Linked DNA regions of Homo sapiens: regions 2 and 3 are each linked to region 1. Evidence: promoter capture Hi-C in 16 types of primary human blood cells and fetal thymus (Javierre and others, 2016). All regions are on one chromosome and are shown on one strand. The core of a region is centred on a gene start or on the middle of the fragment in contact, and the rest is flanking DNA. Distances in the headings are between cores, read along the strand shown.

Evidence for each region. The method cuts DNA at HindIII sites, captures the fragments that hold promoters and counts their contacts. A CHiCAGO score of 5 or more calls a contact.
Region 2: a fragment that was not itself captured here is called in contact with the fragment with the promoter of CHMP6 in region 1 in 2 of 17 cell types (naive CD8 T cells and naive B cells); the score reaches 7.1 in naive CD8 T cells.
Region 3: the fragment with the promoter of NPTX1 here is called in contact with the fragment with the promoter of CHMP6 in region 1 in 3 of 17 cell types (endothelial precursors, activated CD4 T cells and total CD4 T cells); the score reaches 6.9 in endothelial precursors.

What each region holds. Positions count from the first base shown.
Region 1 is chr17:80,989,883-80,994,717 of GRCh38, forward strand. It overlaps CHMP6 (charged multivesicular body protein 6), which reads left to right and starts at 1,959. Exons shown (of 8, transcript NM_024591.5): 1 at 1,959-2,099; 2 at 4,699-4,808. The coding sequence starts at 2,037. RefSeq lists silencers at 1,852-2,181, 2,312-2,461, 2,472-2,661. The HindIII fragment of the contact is 12,121 bases long and covers 1-4,835 here.
Region 2 is chr17:80,439,272-80,444,106 of GRCh38, forward strand. No RefSeq gene overlaps it. Among named protein-coding and RNA genes, the nearest start is that of MIR4730, 22 kb to the left of the region's middle. RefSeq lists an enhancer at 2,201-2,867. The HindIII fragment of the contact is 1,335 bases long and covers 1,442-2,776 here.
Region 3 is chr17:80,474,312-80,479,146 of GRCh38, forward strand. It overlaps NPTX1 (neuronal pentraxin 1), which reads right to left and starts at 2,296. Exons shown (of 5, transcript NM_002522.4): 1 at 1,692-2,296; 2 at 1,200-1,407. The coding sequence starts at 2,135. RefSeq lists an enhancer at 750-1,283. The HindIII fragment of the contact is 19,396 bases long and covers 1-4,835 here.

The DNA of each region.
Region 1 (4,835 bases), core at 709-3,208:
TGCTGCAAGGAATACAGCAGCAAAGCCACGGGAAGAGTCCCCCAAAGGGACCTGTACCTGTTTACCAAAGTAACTGTGTAACAGAGGGAGGGAAATACTCAAGCGTCTCAGGAATGACAAGACACTGGCATCAAATGGATTCCAATTCCTTTTCTTTTTCTTTTTCTTTTTTTGGAGACAGAGTATCACACTGTCGCCCAGGCTGGAGTACAGTGGTGTGATCTCAGCTCACTGCAACCTCCACCTCCCAAGTTCAAGCGATTCTCCTGCCTCAGCCTCCCAAGTAGCTGCGATTACAGGTGCATGCCACCATGCCCCACTAACTTTTGTAGTTTTGTAGAGACACGGTCCACTATGTGAGGCCAGGCTGATGTCGAACTCCTGACCTCAGGTGATCCACCCACCTCAGCCTCCCAAAGTGCTGGTATTACAGGCGTGAGCCACCACACCTGGCCAGATGGAGTCTGCTAGAGTCTCGGGGATTTTATAGGGACAGGATGGGGGCGTGGCAGGCCAGGGTGGTCTTTGGAAATGCAACATTTGGGCAGGAAAACAAAAATCCCTGTCCTCACCTAGGTTTGTGGGCACAGGCGGTGGGGGGATCCCTAGCCAAGGATCACGCCTTCCTCTACCCAGCTCTTCCTTCCCCCTTCATGAGGAGCAGGGAGTAGCAAGTCTTTTTTTTTTTTTTCCTCAACGTCCCCATGGACACCAAGGAAAAAAGTACTTCAGATGTCTTGGTGAGACAAATCAGAGGGTGGGAGATGAACCCCACAAAAATTCAGGGGCCCCCTCACCTCAGTGAAGGTTCTGGAGTCCAGAGGTTTGGAACAGGTGATAATTATTCTCCTTTTGATGTTATTTGTTATATTTTTTGTAGAGACGGGGGTCTTGCTATGTTGCCAGGCTGGTCTTGAACTCCTGGCCTCAAGCCATCCTCAGCTGAGTGCTTTTCTTTGACACTTAGTGAATGCTCAGGAACCACAGTCAGGATACTCAGGCGGGAACCGGGGTGGCTTCTCCCTTTTACCCTTTATCCCCATTCATGTGTTTCTTAGCCCCCCAGGGAAGAATGCTTCTGTGGGGGACGCAGCCACGATTCCTTGGAAGGAGAAGCTGAGCCCAGCCATGCTGGTCTCCTCCTGGCACTGATCTACAGACAGGGAGCAGCGCAGTGGAAGAGGGAAGATCCCAGGGCTGAAAGGCTGGGTGGAGGGCGCTGCTGGTCGCATTTCAGGGAACATTTTAAAGTGCAAAGCGGGCCGGGTGCGGCGGCTCACGCCTGTCATCCCAGCACTTTGGGAGCCCGAGGTGGGTGGATCAGAAGGTCAGGAGCTCAAGGCCAGCCTGGCCAATATGGTGAAACCCCGTCTCTACTAACAAACATTAGCCGGGTGTGGCAGCAGGCACCTGTAGTCCCAGCTACTCAGGAGGCTGAAGCAGGAAAATCACTTGAACCCGGGAGGCAGAGTTTGTAGTGAGCCGAGATAGCGCCCCTGCACTCCACCCTGGGCGACAGAGCAGGACTCCATCTAAAAAAAAAAAAAAAAAAAAAAGTGCAAAACGTTGGATATCACATCATTAATGCGGCATTTTGTGTTCAGAGCCAGTGGGACAGTGATTCCTGCACAAGATTCCTGAAAGCCTGGGGAGACTGAATTATGTTAATCTAAAAGGATCCCACCTAATTAGGAGATAAGAAATTTTTGCCTTCACCTGCACAGGAAGGGTGCACGGAAACACGTCATTTAGAACATCCCGGGCCCGAACATCGCGGGCCCTAACATCCAGGTATCCGTGCCACTTCTCCGTACCGGTCCAAGGAGGCCGCGGTGTTCGCGGCGGTCGCCGAGACCGGCGGGCTGTGGTTTCGAACCCGCGGCAACGGCGCGCGGCCGGAGGCGGCGCTCGGCCTTCGCGTTCCGCGGCGCCTGGCCCGGCGCGGCCGCCGTAGCGGGAGGACCCGAGCTACGGTGGCCGCGGGGCGGCGGTGGCGATTGGACTTGGTGGGTCCCGGGCCAGGGGCGGGCGCCGCCATGGGTAACCTGTTCGGCCGCAAGAAGCAGAGCCGCGTCACGGAGCAGGACAAGGCCATCCTGGTGAGGGCCCGGGCCCGGGGTCAGGGCTGGGGCCGGGACAGGCGACGGGGCCGGGGCGGGCGGCGGGGCCGGAAGAGCCCCGCGCCCTCGGCCCCCCGCGTTCGGATGGGGAAACTGAGGCGCAGCGCGCAGCCGGGCCCCTCGGTCTCTCCGCCCTGCGTCCCTCCTCGCCCGCGGGGCCTCGGGCCGGGGTCTCCTGCGCGGCGCCGTGGCTGCCGTCTTCCCCGGGGCCCGCGCGTCCGCCTCTGCGAGCCCCGCCGGGGTGGGCGCGGCTGGTGACTGCGGGATTCGACGCCGGCGTTCGGGGCTCGGCCACAGCCTGGCGGCCCGTCCGTGGGGTCCGCGCGGCGCTGGGCTTTCCCTGGCTCTGGGCCCGCGGGAGCAGGTCCCGGCTCTCCCGGAGTCGCTGCCCCCGCCCCCGTCCCGCGGCTCATTTGCCTCCTGGTGCCCTGGGCCGGAGCCCCGGCGGTGCTGCCGGCTTCGCGAGGCAGCGCGGGGCATCCCCTCTCCCTCACCCCATCCAGGCCAGGACTGGAAGGAAGTCTGCCCTGGTCCGAGGAGCGGCCGACAGGTGCGCCGAACGCCTGCCGGGGTCCTGCCGGGGTCCTGCCGGGCTTCCGCAGCGCCTGGGTACGGGACCACCGTGTTTGGCGCGTTTGTTTGCGGCGACTCCAGACTGACCCCCCGGGGCACAGCCGGGCCGGTGGTGGTGCCTTTTCCCATGTGAAAGTTAGCTTCTGTAGGAGGAGGAATCGCCTGGCATGTCAGGGACAGGGCGGGTTAAGAATAGTCCATTTTTGTAACGAGATAAACGTGTCACGAAAGAGACCCCGAAATGAAAGCAGGGCTAGCTTTTTCGGATGCTTTCTTTTCTAAATTTTGTGCAACAGAAATAGGTTAATTTTATACTAAAAGAGAAGCGAATGTAAATGAAAGAGGGAATCTTACGTTGGCATCTGAGTCCATAAGCTGTGAAAAGAAACAACGGGCACATTTGTCCCTAGAGAAGATGGGCACAGCGCTGGGCACCGTCCCGAGCTGCCTGCAAGACAGCTGGACCCAGCCTCCATCGTCCACCTTCCACCTACCCTGCCAGCCCCAAGGCACTCCCTCCCCTCTCTTTAAGGACTCAGCTCCGGTTTCTCTTCAAGCACAGCTTTCCACTTGCCAAGGGTCACTGTGGGCTCTCGGCTGTGCAGACCCGTGTTGCGGGCTGCCGTAGGTCTCCCTGGGATTTTGGGTGCTTGGGAACAGCATCCTTAGCACACACTAGCACAAATGATTGCTTTTTTTTTTCTGTTTTTCTAGGATAACAGGTGTTCCCCACGTGGCCTGTGACCCTCCACTGAGACCTTGTTTTACAGGGGGGCAGCCTGGCCACACCTGCCTGCCTTTGGCCCCTGGGTCTCCCCAGCAGTGGGGCTGGGCAGGGGGCACCTTTCACTGTAGCAACGAGAGGACCCACAGGCCTTGGCACGGCGAGGGGGAGACTCCGTGGGTGGAGGGAACCGGGAATGAGCCCTCTCAGGTAGAGGGAGCACTGGCTTCCCATGCGGAGTCTTAAAGAGGCACACAGGCCCTGACTGAGCTAATTCTCCTCAGCCTCCTGCCTTAAGGCCATAATCCCTGTGCCTGCACGGGCTCAGCATTGTCTGAAGTGATGACGTTTGGAAAACTTAAGGACCTGATAGAGCAGGACTGGCTGAAGTTCCTCAGTGGCCGAGTGCCCTCTCTGGGACGGCACACAGATGAGAGGCGGTCAGCGGGGCCGAGTGGGTGTCCCTGCAGCCGGATGGTTGGCAAAGGGGCAGGGAAGCCACAGGCATCTCATGCGGCTGAAGCGCAAGGAGAGAAGCCGGGGGGATGTCTGAGCCCTGTCCTGGCCGTGTGGCTGGTGGCACTTGGGTACTCGCCACCTGCATGTTCTTGAGTCGGAACTTTTTTTTTTTGAGATGGAGTCTCACTCTGTCACCCAGGCTGGAACACAGTGGCATACTCTCGGCTCACTGCAAGCTCTGCCTCCCGGGTTCACGCTGTTCTCCTGCCTCAGCCTCCCAGGTAGCTGGGACTACAGGCACCGCCACCACACCCGGCTAATATTTTTATGTATTTTTAGTAGAGACGGGGTTTCACCATGTTAGCCAGGATGGTCTCGATCTCCTGACCTCGTGCTCCGCCCGCCTCGGCCTCCCAAAGTGCTGGGATTACAGGCGTGAGCCACTGCGCCCAGCCGAGTCCAAACCTTTGAGGTCCTGGCAGCTGCTCCCTGACCTGAGCCTAGAGTGCTTGTACCGCTGGCAGGCAGCCTCGAGGGTGGACCCACAGCAATGCCACGGTGGTCTTCCCCATCCCTGTGATGGGCTGTGGAGTCCGGGTGACCCTCTGGTGGGGCCGCCTCTTGTGTGGCAGGATGTGGAGCTGAGTCCCTGGCTTCCACCCCCAGACGTGTCCAGACAGCACCACCTGTCCCCTGGAAGGCAACCCTGCCCCATGAAGGACACTCACGGAGGGCCGCCCGGCCTCCATGCCTGGCGCTCAGTAGCGTGGCCAGGGCTCCCAGTGTGGGCTCGGTGACGCCAGGCCCTCTCTCTCTTGGCAGCAACTGAAGCAGCAGCGGGACAAGCTGAGGCAGTACCAGAAGAGGATCGCCCAGCAGCTGGAGCGCGAGCGCGCCCTGGCCCGGCAGCTGCTGCGGGACGGCAGGAAGGAGTGAGTGGGGCCCGGGCAGCGTGGGCA
Region 2 (4,835 bases), core at 859-3,358, 550 kb before region 1:
AGCTGTGGTGTTTGGGGCAGGAAGGGGTATCTGACGGGTGCCCTGAGGCCTGAGTCACCCTCTCCTCCAGGGGCAGTGCCCAAGCTGCAGACACCCCTCACCCATCCCTGTCTCCCCCCAGGCTCTGGTCTTTCAAACAGGAACTCAGGGTGAAGGGGTGCCACCTGGGAATGTTTGGGGGAGCCCACACTTGCTGGCGGGGAAGTGCTCACCAGCCTGGCCCCCCAACCCCGGCAGCAGCCCAGCCTTAGCAGTCCCTGCTGAACTTCCCTGGCCAGGCCCCGAGTGGAGTTTTACCAAATTATTAATTAAGGGCAAAGCCATGCTGCAGCGCTGACATCCAGATGAATAGCACGCAGTGTAATTAGGCGAGGTGTCATGGAGATGATGGAGTACAGCCTGCTAGCCCCAATTCACCTCCCCGGCAAGCAGGAGCAACTTCTCTGTGTCCTACCACCATGGGCGGCTGGTGTGGGGCCAGTAGGGGTGTGGCTAAAGGGGCCAGCTGACAGCTATTGCGGGTGCCACGGGCCCTGTGGACAGGGCTGGGCTCCTCCCCCAGGGACAGGCACCCCTTCCCCTCTGATTGCCATGGGCAGAACCCAAAAGGGAGTAAAGTGCAGAAAGGGGCAGGCAAGGTGGGAGGCAGGCTAAGGCAGGAGGGATGAGGACCAGGACAAATCCACAGATAGACCCGGAGCAGCCCAGAGAGGGGCATGGAGGGAGCACAGGAGGGCCGAGAGGGGCCGGGGAGGAGGTGCAGAATCCAGGAAGACAGGACAGGCCTCGGGGCCCTACCCTGGGGTTGCCTGGGCCTGACAGAGAGCTGGGAGCGGGGAGCAGCTTGAGAATTTTTGGTTTTGTTTTTTAGTTACTTACATTCATGTATTTTTGGTTGTTTGAGACGGAGTCTCGCTCTATCGCTGAGGTTGGAGTGCAATGGAGCAATCTTGGCTCACTGCAACGTCTGTCTCCCGGGTTCGAGCAATTCTCCTGCCTCAGCCTCCTGAGTAGCTGGGATTACAGGCGCCCGCCACCACACCCAGCCAATTTTTGTATTTTTAGTAGAGACGGGGTTTCACCATGTTGGCCAGGCTGGTCTCGAACTCCTGACCTCAATGATCCACCCGCCTCAGCCTCCCAAAGTGCTGGGATTACAGACATAAGCCACCGCTCCCTGCCTACATTTCATGTATGCTTTTAATCAACATCATAAATTGACAGTTTTAATAATCGAATAGTACTACAAGGCTTCTGACGAAAAACCACACCTCTTTCCTGATTCCCCCTTCTCAGAGGCAACCTTTTCTGTGATTGTAGCTGATTCTCTTTGGTATTTACTTCCGAATAGCCATGCTCATGTTGCTGCTGGTGCTGCTTTTTTTTTTCTCCTTTTCAGATTGAGAAATTTACCCATGTCCTTCCCACGATGGCGGCTGAAAGCTTGTTCTCTCACACGTGCCCCCCCACACTCTCCCACCAGCTTCTCCTTTTGATTGAATCAGAATTCAATGTATGCACTATTATTTCTCAGCACACACTCTTCCCAGCTGAGTAATGTATTGTAATTACATTTCCTTTCTTGTACAACCACTTATTTTTCCTGGACTTAATAATTGCCTCATTTAGGGGATTGGGTTGATATTCTGTGTACCCATTACTTATTTATCCCCAAACCCTGCCATGGAAGTATAAATCTCCTTTTGGTTCATTAAAAACATCCGGCCCATCTGGGCACAGTGGCTCACGCCTGTAATCCCAACAGTTTGGGAGGCCGAGGCGGGAGAATTGCTTGAGCCCAGTAGTTCGAGACCAACTTGACAACATAGCGAAACCCCATCTCCATCACTATTTAGTTTTAAATAAAAGATATTTTTAAAATTAAAAACATCCAGGCCAGGCTGCGCTGGGCCCGCCTCACTGTAGGGGGCTGCGCTGGGCCCGCCTCACTGTCGGGGGCTGCGCTGGGCCTGCCTCACTGCACGGGAAGTGTGCTGCCGCTGTCCTTGGTGCTGAAGTCAAGGCTGGGGCCGGAGCCTCTCCTCCAGCCTCACTCCTCTTCAGCTTCCGCCCTGCTTCGCCTCCATTCCTGCCCAAGACCCCCTGGGGAGCAGACCCCAGGCCCTCCTCAAGACTGCCGACCCCAGCCCTCGTCCCAGCCCAGGCCATCTCTCCCAGGCCTTGCCTTTCTGTACCAGGTGGTCTTCCTCCCCAGGGGGCTCCTCCCCGCAGCCCTGGCAGACAGCTTGAATCCTGGAGTTGCAGCAGGTGGGTGTCTGAGTGGAGCTCCCTTGTGTATAATCAGAACTCTCCAGGTTACATGTGACAAAAACCAACTTAAGCAAAGCTGGGACCTCGTTAGTTCACTCCAGGAGGCAGCGCCGCCCTGCATGGCCTGGCCTTGGCTCCCTCCCTCTCCGGGAGGCTGCTCCCTCATCAGCCCAGCCTCACTTCCTCACCCACATAACAATCCTTGGCAGAGTGAGCCCTGCTGTTCCAGCGGCCCCAGTGGCCCCAGCGAAGGCCCCACGCCGACACTTGTTGGCTGGCCAGGCTTGAGTCACATGCCTTCCCCTGAACCCCTCACTGTGGCCTGGGGTCGGGGGGCCAAGTGCCCAGTGCAGAGCTAGGGCCTGGAGCAGCCTCAGTGCACCTTGTGGAGAGGGGGACTTCTCAGTAGAACAGCACTCTTGCCAGGAGAAGGAACACCTGGTTGAGAAAACCGAGGTCAGGTGACCTTCTCAAGAAGGGTCAGTGGCTTCAGGATCTCTCATAAAGCTTCATCTCCAAGGCCCAAGGAGAGCAACAGTGTCCCATCTTGTCTCCAGGTAATTCTATTCCGGTGCCAGCAGAGAACAGCGTGATTAAGCCTCCATTATTAACTTGCCAATCTTGTTTCTGGGGCACAGACGCTAACGGCTTAGGGGACCCAGTTGGCATATAATGAGGTCTCCATGACAAATTACTTGGTTATCAATTAACTATCTGGGGAAATGTCAAGCAGGATCCATCATGCTGGCAGGAAGAGAGAGCCAATTAACCCAGGGCAGTTCATCCAACCCACCGTCGCTGCGTCCAGCAGGGCCAGGAATGAGAGAAAGGGCCTGTGGAGCCCAGAGCAGGGCAGTTCCTCCACCCCCCCAGGGACGGTGTGACACCGGCTGCGGCTACACTGGTGGCAGCTTCTGCAGTCATGCCTCGCGTGCTCGGCGCACCACTCTTGCCTGTACCTGTCTCTGTCCATTCATTCATTCATTCCACAGTCACCTGCATGTCAGACCTGGACCAGGCACGGATGGGAGAGGTGACTGAGGGCTGAGGTTAGGGAGGGACACACGTGCAGACTGCAGACAGGTGTCCCTGTCTTGTGTGGTCTCTGCAGTCAGCAAGATGGGTAACAGCATCCTCAGGACAGGGAGGAAAGAAGAGTTCATTCTAAAGGTGGTGGGGGGACAGAGAGAGCATCATAGCTGGGAGGAGAGAAGAGTTCATTTTAAGGGGGTGGGCGGGGGACAGCATCACAGAGCTGGGAGAAGAGTTCATTCTAAGGGGGTAACGGGGGGACAAAGCATCACAGAGCTGGGAGGAGGAGAGAAGAGTTTGTTCTAAAAGTGGGGGGCACAGAACATCATAGAGCTGGGAGGAGAGAAGAATTCATTTTAAGGCGGTAAGGAGGGGACAGCATCACAGAGCTGGGAGAAGAGTTCATTTTAAGAGAGGGTGACAGAGTGTCTCAGAGCCAGGAGGAGGAGAGAAGAGTTCATTCTAAGGTGGGGGACAGAGCATCACAGAGCTGGGAGAAGAGTTCATTCTAAGGGGCGGGGGACAGAGAGACACAGAGAGACTCTGTGACAGCATCACAGAGCTGGGAGGAGGAGAGAAGAGTTCATTCTAAGTGGGGGTTGGGGGGTGGGGGCAGGACAGAGTGCATCACGGAGCTGGGAGGTGGAGGAGGAGAAGCCAGGTCCCTGAGACAAGGGGCAGGGTGGGTGGCCACCAGGCAGAGGGTGCCCAGGCACAGCAGGGGACGGGGCTGCTCCAGGCTTGGGCAAGGGACCATTGACTGTGCACTGTCCGGACCTGAGCAGAATCTGGCTCTGCCGTCGCTGTGCTGGGAGACCTTGAAACAGTTTAGTAAAACCTCGCCGGGCCTCTGTTTTCTTATCTATAAAATGGGGATAATAACCCCCAGTTCTGGGAGTGTTGTGGGAACTAACACTGTGGCCCCCACTTGGTGCTGGCTGAACCTGGTTCCTCCTTCTCCTCCCTACAAGAGAGGCCTTGGACCCACCTCACTGGTGAAGGCTCCCAGGGTGCACATGCCGGAGCAGAGGCGCAGGGAGGAGGGAGGCATCCTGGAGGAGGTGGCTTGGGCTGTCCTGGAGGAGGGAGGTGGCTTGGGCTGACGGCCGGCACACGGACGGGCCCGAGGCCGAGTGGCAGGGTCGGGGACTTTGGTCACTTATCAAAGTCAAAGCCCAGGACTTTTTGGGTTTTGCTTTGTTTTCAGCAAAGGCCCTTGGGTCACCTGCGATGTGTCCCACCCTTGTGAGAACCAGTGACGAAGCCCTGGCCCTACCCTGTCCCCTGGCCTTTGCCTGTGCCCCCACCCCGCCCCTCTGGTAGCCCCCTCCCCTTGCCTACTTGGGGGTGATTGGCAGCTGCCTCTTCCCAGCCCCCCAGGCCATGGCACGGAGCCTCAAGCCTATTCATGATGCGGACATATGGCACCTCCACGGGGGGCTTGGAGGAAACTGCCAATTGCGAGAGTGCAGCGTGTCCCCATTCCAGCCCTGCCGGAGCAAAACAAACGCAAGTCGCGAGGGGAGCAGAGG
Region 3 (4,835 bases), core at 1,046-3,545, 520 kb before region 1:
TGACTGACTCCAGGCAAAACATTCCTGGCCAGCAATGGGCACAGTAGCAGGCCCAGAGCCCAGGAACACACACCCCTTGGTCAATCCCTGGGTGAGCAGCCGTGGTCCTGCCAGGAAGCCCAGAAAGAAACCAGTTCCCCAGGCCAAAAATTATTTCTAGAAGACATCCTGCCCGGTCAGCAACCACCCCCTCCTCTAAACCAACTGGCAGGGAGCAGAGCAGGGCAGGCCCCCTCAGTGCAGCACCCCAGCGGCTACCCCAACCCATTGAGGCCTGCAGTGGGGGATAGGGAGGGGCCCAGCCCCTGGCCTTTCTCCGGGTGTTTTTCATTCCCCAATCTCCGCTCCTTCCCTCTCCCTCCCTCCTGAGGTCCTTCCTTCTGATCTGTTTTTCAGTTACATAACAAGCCTTAAGATGGCACTGTTTAAATCTGTCCGGCACATTTTGCGGTCTGAGCAGGGTCACGTGGCCTTGCTCCGCACCGGGCACCCCCCCCCCTCCCCTTTTACAACCTTGTTTGATTTCTGCGACTTCAAGACAGAGCCTCCAGCGCTCATCCAGGCGCCCTGGGTGATAGACTGGCTGGCCTGAGTTGGTGACTGAGAAACCTCAGGGATTTGAAAGATGCCAGGACTTGGGTCACTCAGAAAAGAAAACCTCAGGGTAGGGGTTCAGGACAGAAGTGGGGAGGAGCTGGAGATCCTGAGAGGACACCGGGGGCATGGCAGCCGGGAAGAAACCTGCTTAACAGCCTCAGCGGCCCGGGGAACGAGAGCGCCCAGCCCCAGCCTGCACCCAGCTGTACGCTGAGGCTGGGGACCAGGGAGAGACAGGCTTTCTTAAGCAGGGAGGGTTTGAGCCAGCGACAGCCACTGTGCAAAGTTACTGAGGATTAAACAAATCAGACTTGAAAAATCCAGCGAGTGTGTGAGTGTGTCTGGATGGGGGAGGGGGCACTATGCAATCCCCTTTCCCAGAGACAGCCCCAGCCCAAGGCACCCAGCCCTGATAGAAACACCGACTAGAAGCCCAGAACCTGGGAAGGGGTGCGGGGAATGAGAAAGCGGTGCAGGGGTTGGGGGTAGCGGAGCGGCTTGAGGCTTGCACAGTGCAGAGCTGGGCTGTTAGGGATCGGGACCGAGGCAGGGTCGGGCAAGCAGGTGCAGGCAGGCAGCACGGCTCCCCCTGGCCCCAGTACCTTTCTCGAGCTCGCTGATCCGCTGGTGCAGGGAGGTCAGGGCGGTCTCGATCTTGACCCTCTCCTCGGTGTCGTTCCTGGGGCCCCCCTTGCCCTCCTCCAGGGTGTTCACCCGGGACAGCACCTGCCTCTCCAGCTCATCGATCTTGCTCTGCAGCAGATCCTTGAGGCTGTTGGTCTGGCTGGAGGAATTGAGGCGGCTGTACTGCTGCGGGGTGCAAGGGCGGGGGAAACCACACCGTTAGGCGAGGCGCGGGGACCGTGCTGGAAGGCCCGCGGCGCGGTCCCCTCTGGGCGACTGCGGGGGCGGCCTGGCAGGGAGCTGGGGCGAGTGGCCGCCGCGGGGCCTCGCAGGCGCGGGGAGGCACCGGCCGGGCACCCGCGCGGCTGAGGCGAGGGCGGGGGATGCCTGGCCGGGTAGGGAACGGGGTGGGGGAGGGCAGAGGGGCGAGCGAGCCGGAGGGGGAACCGGAGCCGAGGGCGCGCGCGGACCTCGAGGTTCTCCAGGCGGGTTTTGAGCGATTGCAAAGTTTGCCCGAGTTGGCTGAGCGTCTCGGCGGCCGGTGTCCGGGACAGGTCGCCCATGGTGTTCTTGCCCGAGCCGGGCTGCTTGCGGCCGCCGCCCGCCCGGGCCTCGCCGGCTCCGGGGTCCAGCGTGCTCTGGCTCTCGCAGCGGCCCAGCTTGGCGGTCAGCTCGCGGATGGTCTCCTTCTGGCTCAGGATGGTCTCCTTCTGCTGCAGCACCGTCTCGCGGAGCTGCAGCACGCTGCTCCGGAGCTCCTCGGCGCCGCCGGCGGCCACGGACGCGGCGCACATGTCGGCGTCCACGGGCACCGAGGTGCAGATGAAGCGCGTCGGCCCGAAATCCTGGGCCCCGGCGCCCAGGAGGCAGAGGGCGAGCAGCGCACAGGTGCGCGCGGCGCGGCCGGCCGGCATGGCTGCGGGCACCGGGCGCTCCGGGCCCGGCTCGGCTCGGCTGGGGCTCGGCTCCGGCTGGGACCCGGCTCGGGCTGTGGCTCCGCGAGCGGCCCGCGCTCTGGGCGCCGCGCTCTTCGGCCGCGCGGTCCACACCGCCGCGCTATCAGGCCCCCACTGCCGCCTGCGCTGCGGAGCCCGCGCCTTTTATGCCGCCGCGGGAGGGGCCTCGAGCCGCCGACGTCAGCGGGGGAGGAATCCCGCTTTAATTGTCCGCGGCCCGGGCCCGCGGCGCGGCGGGGGTCTCACGAGCGCGCCACCGGGGCTGCCTCCGCTCGCGTCCCCCCCGCCCTTCTGGGAGCTGCCGCGGCCCCCTCCTCCCCCGCCCCCGCCTGGGCCGGCGCTGCTGCCCCGAAGGCTCCGAGAGCTCAGGGGGAAGGAAGTCGGGCTCCGGCCCCGGACTCGAGGATGGACCACCTGCGTGGTGTCCCCGAACCTCCGACGGGGCTCCAGGCGGGCGGGAAACCACCGCGTCCGGGAGATAGAATTCGGTTCGGCCCTCCTGGCTGCACTGAACACCCTTGGGCCGGGGTCGTTTGGAGCCGGGCTGGGTGCCCAAGGACCCAGGTCGTCAACACCCGAGTGCCCGGTGGTCAACGGCTCGGAGTGGGGCCTCGCGGCGCCACTAAGTCCAGAGCGGGGGTCACCGGGCCGCCCCGCGTTTCTTAGATGTCCGTGTGCTATTGAGAAGCCGCCGGGCAGCCTGGGTACAGGGACTTCCCACGGGTCGGGGCCCCCGGCGCCTCCCCTCCCCCAGCTCCCGGGCTCTGTGGACCCGGCCCCGTCCCCGGGGGACTGTCAGTCCCCACCCCGTGCGGGCGGGGCGCTGGGGACTTCTCGGAGGCAGACCTAGCTGATCGAGCCTTTCCTGTCCGCGGCGCCGGCCCGATCGCGGGCAGGCGGCGTCGCCGGGGCTGGACGTTCGCAGCGGCGCTTCGGAAGGGGGCCCCGCGGGAGCAGCCGCCCGCGTCTCCAGCAGCTTCCCCTTGCCAGGCGCCGCGCGCGCCCGGTATCCCCGGGTGTCCACCTGTGCGTGGGGGGCTGTTTCCCGTCTGTCCAGCCGCGCCCACTTCTCAGGCCCAAAGGCCAGCAGGAAGGGTCCCGGAGGTGGCTGGGGGCGTCCACCTGAGAAGCTCCGCTCTCGCTCAGACACCCCACCCGGCACCCGCGCACTCGCGCCTTCATCTGGACCGCGGGGCTCGGCTCCCGAGATCGCGGTCCGGGTTCCGGCGCCGGGCTGGGGGCTCAGGACCAGGGCTGGCGCAGCCGCCCCGCCCCGCCCCGCCCCGGGGCTATCAGAGCGGTCAAAGCCTCGGAAATCCCTCCGTCCACGCTCCCGTGGTACAGAGAAGGAAACTGAGGCTCCGAGACTGCGGGGCCGGGCTACAGCCGTGGCCCCCCGACCCCTCCCCGCCGCCCCCGGCTTCTCTGGTCTCTGCGTTCTGCAGCCTTTCCCTGCGCGCAGCCGGGGGCTGGGGGTCCCCAGCCAGCAGGGACCCACGGGCAGTCCCGGGTGCCGGGATCGGGCGTCCGCCCCTCGGGCGGGAGCAGAGGCCGGCTCGATGGAGACCTTTTTGAGAAATGGCGGCCTCTACCCGCCCCCCAGCCCCCGAGCGCCCGCCGTCTGCGTTCAGCATCTCAGCTTTTAAGCCTCCCTGAGCCGGGGCTGCGTTCTCGTTGTCTCCTTCGGCCGCCGCTTCCTGGCGCCAGAGGGACCCCGCGGCCCGCACGGGCCTGTCCTCGGCTCCGCTCGGAGGGTGTGCGGGTTCCCGCTCCGCTGGCCCCGCTTGCCCACCACGGCGCGCCCAAACCCACGCGGCCCGCGGCCCCTTGCGTGCTCTGCCGACCCCGGGCCGCAGGAGGGGTTAGCCTCGCCGGTCCCCACGCGGGGTCTGCGCCGGCAGCGCCACGGGCTGGAACGCGCCTCGGGAGAAATTACCCGCGCGGGGTCGCGGCGTCTTCTGCCCCAACTCCCGTAGGGAGCCGCTAGGCGGGTGCCCTCCTGGCCCCAGCGCTTTGGCCTCGCCGCCCTCCCGCACGCGTCCAGTGGGGAGGCCGCGCCCGTCAGGCCTGGAGCCGGACCGTGCCCAGCCGAGAGCGCGCGGGCGCGGGAGAGGAGCCCTGCCCTGCCCAGGGCAGGCTGTTTAGACGGGGCGGGAACCCTTAGCCTGGCCCCGCGTCTCTATCCCCAGCAGCCGTGGAGCCTTCCTAGCCGCCCAAGGCCAGGGACCCTGCCTGGCTTTTCCTCCAGGGCAGCAGATCTCAGCGGCCTGGCACCTCGGCACAGAGGAGCGTGTCCCCCTTCCGCAGAGGAAGGGAGTGGACGGCGTCAGAAAGGGAGGGGAGCCTGGGGCGGTGTCTGGGGCTAGCGGGACCTCTGGGCACTGTGGGGCCCCAGGAGAGGAGACCCTCGGGTCCAGCCTGCAACTGTTGTGCAGGAGGCGCTGGGCGGGACACCTGCAGGCGCTGCACACACACGCGAGGGCCACCATGCCGCGTTTCTCCTTCACAAGACCCTGGGCAAGCGGAGGGTCGTATTTAGGATTCCCTCGGCCTCCCCAGTGTTCTGAAAGTATCTGAGAGGGAGGGAGCAGGAAAACGAAGGGCCGCCCTGCCCAAACTCATCGGGGTGTCTGGTTACTAGGTCGGAAGAGGGGGGAT